Linked DNA regions of Homo sapiens: region 2 is linked to region 1. Evidence: promoter capture Hi-C in 16 types of primary human blood cells and fetal thymus (Javierre and others, 2016). All regions are on one chromosome and are shown on one strand. The core of a region is centred on a gene start or on the middle of the fragment in contact, and the rest is flanking DNA. Distances in the headings are between cores, read along the strand shown.

Region 1 (4,005 bases), core at 319-2,818:
TGTGTTTTGGAGACAGAACTCATGGGTCAGAATTCTTGCACCCCAACTCCTTCCGTAGAATCTCTTCTCTGGGAGCCCTAGAGCTTAGGAGTGGGCTATGGCTGGGTCTCACTCTAACCCTTTGTCCCTGCAGATTTGATGAGCCTGTCCCAGACCTCTGCAGCCTCAAGCGGTTGTCTTACCAGAGTGGGGATGTCCCTCTGATCTTTGCCCTGGTGGATCATGGTGACATCTCCTTCTACAGCTTCAGGGACTTCACGTTGCCCCAGGATGTGGGGCACTGACCTCACAGCTCTGCAGAGGATGGAGCTTGCTCCGGGGGACCGGGACTGTCTGTTCTCAGGGACCATCTCGGCTGCCTCCTGTACCCAGACTCTAACCTGTAGCTTCAGAGGCCAGTCTGGGCCTTGGCCCTGGGTGTCTGATACTCACAGAGTGAAACTGTGACCCTCTCCCTTCCCTGCTGCCTTGCAGTGACCCCTCTGGAACTCAGGACTCGATTTTAAGGACCCAGGAGGTGGGGCAGAAGAGAGGACTGTGTGCCTTTAACGAGAGGGTGCCTGCTTCGTGCTATAAAGCCAAAGCCATTAAAAATAGATTTCTTTTCTGCTGTTTCTGTATGTACTGGGTAAACCCCTCTCGCCCCCGTCCCGTTGTCAGTGGAACTGCCCCCAGCCCCTCACCCCTGCTTTGCCCACTCAAGGAGATCCGCTTCCTCTGGTGCGGGATCTAAGAGTGAGAGAAGCCCGCGGGATAGCAGGAACGCGACCTCGAACCTTTTGAGCCTTTCCCGGGCCTGCGTCGGAGGGGATGGGACGTCGCAGGCTTCCCGAAGGGAGGAGGGAGGACGGCGCGCCATCGGCCCTTCCCTGGGCGCAGCGGGGTGCGGGTGGCGAGAGGCGCCACCTGCAGCTGGGCGGTGGAGCGCGCTGCAGCCCCGGCCTCCGCGCCCTTTCCGCTCCCGCCTCTCGTCGCTCCAACCTCCTCCCTCGCTTGTGCTAAAAATTCCACCCGCTGTTGCAGACCCTCCGGCCGACACGGAGGAGGTGGGCGCCCCCCCGCACCCCCCCCCGAGGAAAGGCGTCTCGCCGCGACGCCCCGGTCCCTACACCATCCCTCTCGTGGGGCTGGAAACCCGGCCCTGCGTCCCCCGGTCACCCTCTCTGGGCTGGGCTCTGGCAGAGGAGCTGGCCCGGATCCGCCCCTCCCTCGGCAGCTCCCGGGAGTTGGAGGGACGGCTCCCCTGGAGTCTGGGAGGCGGCCCGGGACCGCAGGCGTTCCGGGAACTATTTCCGCTTGCGGGAGGCGGCGGGACACTGGGCGCGGCGCGCCGTTCTGCGTCCAGGTGCGCGCAGGTGAGGCCGGGGCGGGCCTGCGGAACCCCGAGGCCGTTCGCGAGGCCCCGCCCCGCGCTTCCCGGGGCCGCGGATTGGCAGGAGCGCAGCCCCCACCCCCGAGGGTGCCCCCGCCCCTGCGGCGCCGAGCTGGGGGGCGGGCCGGGGGCGGGGCGCTGGGCCCCGGCAGGCTCGCCCTTTATGTAAATAGCGCGGCTCCGCCCCAGGCTCGCCGCGCCGGAGGTGAGCAGGAAGGAGACGGCCGCCCAGCAGCCCGTGGGCAGGCGCGGCGGAGCGAGCGGGGCCGGCGGCGGGCGCCGAGGGACGCCGAGGCCTCGGGCGGGGGCTGGCCCGGGGTTCCAGGTGAGATGCGTGCCGGACTCGCCCAGCCGGGCCCGCCCCCTCGGGGCTTCCACCTGGGGCGGGGAGGCCAGGGAGGCCCAGGACCCCTGGGCTGTCGGGCCAGGGCGGGAGGGCTGCGCCCAGGTCCGCGCGCCTCGCCCCTGTCCGCGTCGCTGTGCTGGCCTGGAAGAGAGACACCTGTAGAAAGTTCTGCGGGAAACTTCTCTGCCTGATCTGCGCGATGACTGAAACTTGGGCTTGGGTTTGCACAATAATGTTGGCTTAGGAGAGCAGGAGAACAGGTGCCCCGGCCGGCTGGGTGCGGGGGGCACCGCGGGCAGAGACGGAGTCCCCGGGCCCACGTGCAGGCGCCAGGCCAGCGGGGTTGGCGACGCGCGTCTGCGGTGACCCCCTCCCCACGGGCGGCGGCCGGAGCGCGGTGCCCCGGCGGCTTAGCCCCTGCCCCTGCCATCTGGGCTGTGTCCCTGCCGGCCCTTTGTGCCTCCTAATCCCCGGACGCAGGAAGCCCGCGGGAGGGACTTCGGTCTCCGGCCTTTCTCCAGCTGGGGCGGCTTTGGACACCTTCACATGACAGTGCGGAGACCCAGTCTGCCCTCCATGCTGACGGGCGGGGTTTGCGCTGTGGGATTTGGCGAGAAGTGGAAAATTCTATCTTGCCAAAGAAAGTGTGTCTTAGTTTGTTCCGGCTGGACGATTGGTGGACACGCTGGGCCTTGGCTGTGGGGAGAACTGACCTAACCAGGGGAGCTGTAGAGTGGCGCTTTGAGGCTCTCACCTGAACAGGTGAGCTTTGAGTGAGGAGGGCGCCCCTTCCCCTGGGGATCCGTATGCGACTGCCGGCAGCCTTAACCTGGGCTCCAGGGACCCCCTGCTGGAGTTTGTAGTTCAAGAGAACCTTGAGTTCTCTTGAAGGGGCTACAGAGAGGATTCTGAGCAGGGAGCGGGCAGGGAGGGAATGGGTGTGTCAAGGTGACAAGGAAACGCTGGTAGGAAGAGCAGAGCTGCCACAGAAGAGCTGTGGCCCAGCCCGGGGGAAGCCAAGGTCAGAAGTGGCAGTTGAGGCTGGGTGCATTGGCTCACAGCTGTAATCCCAGCACTTTGGGAAGCCAAGGCAGGAGGATCGCCTGAGCCCAGGAGTTTGAGACCAGCCTGGGCAACATAGTGAGACCTCGTCTCTGCAAATAATAAAAAAAGTTAGCCAGGCATGGTGGCGTGCACCTGTAGTCCCAGCTACTCAGGAGCCTGAGGTGGGAGGATTGCCTGAGCCCAGGAGGTGGAGGTTGCAGTGAGTCATGATGGCGCCACCACACTCCAGCCTGGGGACAGAGTGAGACCCTGTCTCAAAAAAAAAAAAAAAAAGTGGCATTTGAGGAAAACTGTCTGGGTCTGTGTGAGCAGAGGCACAAGGAGAACTGTGCGAGAGATGTCTCAGCTTTATTTTATGAACTGGGATTTGGGGTTTAGTTTTCTTAGGCGATCTTCCCACAGTGCTAGCTGTGGCAGACAGAACTCAAACTCAGCTCTTAAGCTTCTAATCAGAGTTCACTCCTTTCCTCTGAAGTTAGACTGGGCCCATCTTTGTGGGGGCTCCTGGACAGGGTTTCCGGGGTCCAGGGTCATTTGGCATCCCCATTCTTCCTTGAGGCAAGGGAGTTTCCCCTTTGGTGTCAGATTAATATGCTTTTAATTATATTAAAATGACACTACATTCATAAATAAGAAATAAAATAGAAAAAAGTAACTTTTTTCTCTTTTTTTTTCTTTTTTTTAAACTAAGTTGACCAAATTCTTTTTTTCTTTAATAATATGTTTTTTAATTTGTAGAGATGGGATCTCACCATATGTTGCCCAGGCTGGTCTCAAACTCCTGGACTCAAGTGACCCTCACACTTCAGCCTCCCAAAGCGTTGGGATTACAGGTGTAAGCCACTGTGCCCAGCTGTTAGTAACTTTTTTTTTTTCTTTTTTTGAGGCAGAGTCTTGCTCTGTCACCCAGGCTGGAGTGCAGTGGTGCAATCACTGGGAGATGGAGGCTCACTGCAGACTCGACCTCCCAGGCTCAAGTGATCCTCCCACCTCAGCCTTCTGAGTAGCTGGGACTACAAGCGCGCAGCACCATGCACAGCTAATTTTCTATTTTTTTTTTAGAAAGGGGGTTTTGCCATGTTGCCCAGGCTAGTCTTGAACTCCTGGGCTCAAGTGATCCTCCTGCCTCCCAAAGTGTTAGGATTACAGGCATGAACTGCCACGCCAGACCCGTTAGTATAAATAACTTTTTATTATTTTTATTTATTTATTTATTTATTTT
Region 2 (4,591 bases), core at 575-3,074, 240 kb after region 1:
CTGAGCTGGACAGGCCACCCCCCAGGGGCACTGAGCTGACCACCACTGCACTGAAGCCAGGGAGGGGGGCAGCTGCAGGGGAAAGAACAGGTGATGGTAAGAGGGGCTGCCTGGGAGGATGGCACAGGAAGGGCAGGTGTCCTGGCGGGAAGGGCAGCAACGGCCTAGCAGCTGTTTCTAGGGTGTGTGTCTCAATTGTCAGAAGCCACCAACCTGCTGGGCCAAGGGACCCACTGCCCTCCATTTTCCCACCCTCTGAGGTTGCTGGGACACTTCTAATTGTCCTCCTGGTTTAGGGCTCTGGAGGGAAAAAAGGCTGGGGTTCAAATCCTGGCTCCTCCAATCAGGTCACGGGAAACCCAGGGCAAGTTCCCGACCTTCTGGGGGCATCAGTTTCCTCATCTGTACAATGGGATGCTCCACTCTACAAGCCTTCCCCACAGTGTATCAGACAAATGAATGGGCTCTGTGGCTGTGAGGTGGCACTCCTAGTATCAGTGAGGACTTGGCTCAGGCCTGGGCCCCATACCTGGGTAGTACTGAATCACTCCCTTGACATAGTTGGCCCACCGAGGAGTCCCAGGCTCCAGCGAGCGCTGGGCTGTGGGCAGTGGAAACTGCAGCCGCTGGGGCTCATCGGCACCCTCAGAGGTGGTGAGGAGAGACACCAGCCCATCCTTGCGGGGGCTGCCCACCAGCACCGTCATGAGCTCCAGAGCCTGGCAGGAGAGACAAGCAGTACGTGAGGCTTCCGCCAGCTGGAGTAAGCCTCTCCAATGACACTGCCTCCAGCCGAGGTTCTGATGCCTCCACAGTCATCAGGTTCTGAACCTCCAGGTTCAGCGTCGCAGGGAAGATCCTGAGGGCCAGCTGACCTTGGGGGCTTGAGCCCTGCCCCCTTAGGTCTTCAGGGGCGGGGCGGCTGCAGCTGGAGCACAGACCTGGACTCTGCCCTGAGCTGTGGGGCAAGGGGGAGAGCTAGCCCAAAGGGAAAACAGATCACTGGAGCTCCAAAGCCTTTACATTTTGGGGTGGCTCTGGACATCCTGTACCTGTGCACTCCCCAAGCTGCAGATGGGGCGGAAAGCGCCCCCCGCTGAAAGCTGGGAGTCCTCACTCCCAAGTCGCAGCCCCGCCAAGAACCTGCTGTGTGACCTCCAGCAGTTCACTGGGCCTCTCTAGGCCTCAGTTTCCTCCTCTGTAAATTGAACGGGCTGGGCCAGAAGGCTACGTTCGCCCAGGTCTGCGGTTGGGGCCCCACGGTGGCCGGAGGCGCGGAGTGTCCCCTTCTGCGTGGCACACAGGGCCTCACAGTTTAAGGGGAACATGCTCCCAGGTTGAAGGCGAGGAGCCCCAGCCCCCAGAGGGCGGGCTTGAGCCAAGAGGCGGCCGCGCACCCTCTCCCGGCCACTTCCTCGCTTCCTCCCTTCCAACGTGGGGAACAGCCTGTCCCGGGGACTCTTCCGTGCACCGGTGCTCCAGGCGCAGCTGCCCGCCCCACATCTCCCGCGGGAAGAACTCGCCCCCAGCGTCCCCGAGGCCCGCCCTCCTCGGCGGCCGGGACAGGCGGCGGCGGGCTAGGGGCTCCCCGTGCAGCCCCTCACCATAGGCAGCACCAGGCCCTGGTTGTAGTCCGTGTGTTCCCCGATGAGGTTGACGCGGCCCGGCGCTGACACGGCCAGCTCGGGCTCGGCCCCGAACTCCTCCCGGAAGGCTCGCCGGGCCTCGGCCAGCAGCTCCGCGACCTGGGGCTGTCTCAAAGCAGCCATGACGCGCGCCTGCAGCTCTGCACAGCTGCTCCGGCACAGCCCCGTCGGCGCGGGATGCTCGGGCGGGGCCCCGCGCGGGGGTGCGCACATTCCCGCCAGCCCCGCCCCGCGCCCGGACGCCCCGCCCCCAGACCTCAGCCGGTTCCGCCCCCACCCGCAACTCCCGTGGGAATCCAGCTGCTGGGTGGTGGGTGGCAGGGGCTAATGGTGCCGGGTGGGATACAGCGCCCCCGATGGTGTCCTTCCCTCTGGACTTCGGGAAGAACCAATGAGCACTCACTAGAGTGAGAATAGCCCTGAGTGGCACTTGGCATGACCAGGATTTCTGAGCTGCCCTTCCCTGGCGCTGGTGACTTTCTATGTGCCTCACCACCCACCACCACCCACACAGCCAGAGCAATGGAGCTGGCACCCGGTTGACCTGGGATTCCCAAAGGGATCCCCTAGGTCCCCAGGGCCAGCAGCTGTGAGAGGTCATCAGCCTCTGATCACCGGTCTCCAAGAGGGTGACCTGACACTCACTGTAAGTAGAGATAAAGACAGACAAGTTTGGGCCGGGCGCAGTGGCTCACGCCTGTAATCCCAGCACTTTGGGAGGCCGAGGTGTGCAGATCACCTGAGGTCGGGAGTTGGAGACCAGCCTGACCAACATGGAGAAACCCCATCTCTACTAAAAAATACAAAATTAGCTGGGCATGGTGGCTCATGCCTGTAATCCCAGCTACTCGGGAGGCTGAGGCAGGAGAATCACTTGAACCTGGGAGGCGGAGGTTTCGGTGAGCTGAGATCACACCATTGCACTCCAGCCTGGGCAACAAGAGCAAAACTCTGTCTCAAAAAAAAAAAAGACAAGTTTGGTGGTGACCAGAGAGTCAATTTTACAAGCTCCTTTTCTAGGTAATACGCAACAGCTCCTAGCAATGGAGAATTGGACTAGGGTGGCGGTGGCCAGCAGTGGGCCCAGCCCCTCCCTTAAGGACCTGCCACAGCTGTCCAGGTAGGTTGTGCTGTTGGCCCCAGCAGGCACTACTTCAGCCCAGAAGCCCTTGTCTCAGAGGCGTGGCCTTGTTCCCAGTCAGGCACTCTTCTCTTGCTATCCTGCATCCTAAACCTGCTGGCCGGCCCCAACTGCTGCCTTGATACCTGTCCACAGCTGCCCACCCTACATGGAACCTTGAAACTGAAAGACTGAAATGTAAGCAGCTTGCTTGGGGTTAGGGTGGGAGTAGTGTGGGGAGTTATGGCCAGGGATTTAGCTTGGGGCCTGCTCAGGGGTGTGCCCAAAGAGTGGGGAACTGCATTCCAAGGGCAATTCTGAAAACTCTTAGAAGAAAACATAGGGGTACAGTTTTGTGACATTGGTTAGGAAATGTTTATTTGGTTTCTGTTTTTGAGACGGAGTTTCGCTCTCGTTGTCCAAGCTGGAGTGCAATGGCGTGATCTCAGCTTACTGCAACCTCTGCCTCCCGGGTTCAAGCGATTCTCCTGCCTCAGCCTCCGGAGTAGCTGGGATTACAGGCACGTGCCACCATGCCCGGCTAATTTTTTGTATTTTTAGTGGAGACTGGGGTTTCACCAGGTTAGCCAGGCTGGTCTCAAACTCCTGACCTCAGGTGATCCACCCACCTTGGCCTCCCAAAGTGCTGGGATTACAGGCGTTAGCCACCACACCTAGTCATGTTTTTTTATTTTTATTTATTTACGTATTTATTTATTTTAGACAGATCTTGCTCTGTTACCCAGGCTGGAGTGCAGTGGCGCGATCTTGGCTCACTGCAACCTCCGCCTCCCAGGTTCAAGCGATTCTCCTGCCTCAGCCTCCCCAGTAACTGGGATTACAGGCACCCTCCACCATGCCTGGATAATTTTTGTAAAAGCAGGGTTTCACCATGTTGGCCAGGCTGCTCTTGAACTCCTGACCTCAAGTGATTTGCCTGCCTCAGCCTCCCAAAGTGCTGGGATACAGGTGTGAGCCAATGCGGCCAGGCAATGGTTTTTTAGATATGACATCAAAAGCACAAGTGACAACAGAAAAATAAACTGTACTTCATCAAAGTGAAATATTTTTCTGCAACAAAGAACTGTCACGCGTGTCCGTGTGAACAGACCACCAAACAGGCTTTGTGTGAGCAACAAGGCTGTTTATTTCACCTGGGTGCAGGCGGGCTGAGTCTGAAAAGAGTAAGCAAAGGGTGGTGGGATTATCATTAGTTCTTATAGGTTTTGGGATAGGTGGTGGAGTTAGGAGCAATGTTTTGCGGGCAGGGATGGATCTCACAAAGTACATTCTCAAGGGTGGGGAGAATTACAAAGAACCTTCTTAAGGGTGGGGGAGATTACAAAGTACATTGATCAGTTAGGTTGGGGCAGGAACAAATCACAGTGGTGGAATGTCATCAGTTAAGGCTATTTTCACTTCTTTTGTGGATATTCAGTTGCTTCAGGCCATCTGGATGTATACGTGCAGGTCACGGGGGCTATGATGGCTTAGCTTGGGCTCAGAGGCCTGACAAGAACATTGTCAAGAAAGTGAAAAGACAACTCACAGAATGGAAGAAAGTACTTGCAAATCATGTATATCTCAGGGGCTTGGAGTTTGAGACCAACTTGGGCAACGTGGGAAGACCTCACTGCTACAAAAAAAAAAAAAAAAATTAGCCAGGTTGGGTGGCACACACCTGTGGTCCCAGCTACTCAGAAGGTGAGAGACCCTGTGTCAAAGAAGAAAAAAAAAAAGCAAAAGATTTCAAGAGACATTTTTCCAAATAATATAAATACAAATGGCCAATAAGCACATGAAAAGATGCTCAAATGTCAGATGT

The links. Contacts are between HindIII fragments. The CHiCAGO score rates a contact against its expected background, and 5 or more counts as called.
Region 2: a contact is called between the fragment with the promoter of GALK1 here and the fragment with the promoter of LLGL2 in region 1, in 1 of 17 cell types (endothelial precursors). The highest score is 5.2, in endothelial precursors.

Annotation. Positions count from the first base shown.
Region 1 is chr17:75,524,129-75,528,133 of GRCh38, forward strand. It overlaps LLGL2 (LLGL scribble cell polarity complex component 2), which reads left to right and starts at 1,569. Exons shown (of 26, transcript NM_001031803.2): 1 at 1,569-1,697. TSEN54 (tRNA splicing endonuclease subunit 54) reads left to right here. Exons shown (of 11, transcript NM_207346.3): 11 at 134-607. The coding sequence ends at 284. RefSeq lists silencers at 935-1,034, 1,055-1,774, 1,091-1,275. The HindIII fragment of the contact is 9,748 bases long and covers 1-3,223 here.
Region 2 is chr17:75,763,368-75,767,958 of GRCh38, forward strand. GALK1 (galactokinase 1) reads right to left here and starts at 1,825. Exons shown (of 8, transcript NM_000154.2): 1 at 1,605-1,825; 2 at 530-719; 3 at 1-72. The coding sequence starts at 1,769. RefSeq lists enhancers at 840-1,049, 1,080-1,309 and silencers at 1,420-1,569, 1,800-1,989. The HindIII fragment of the contact is 22,999 bases long and covers 1-4,591 here.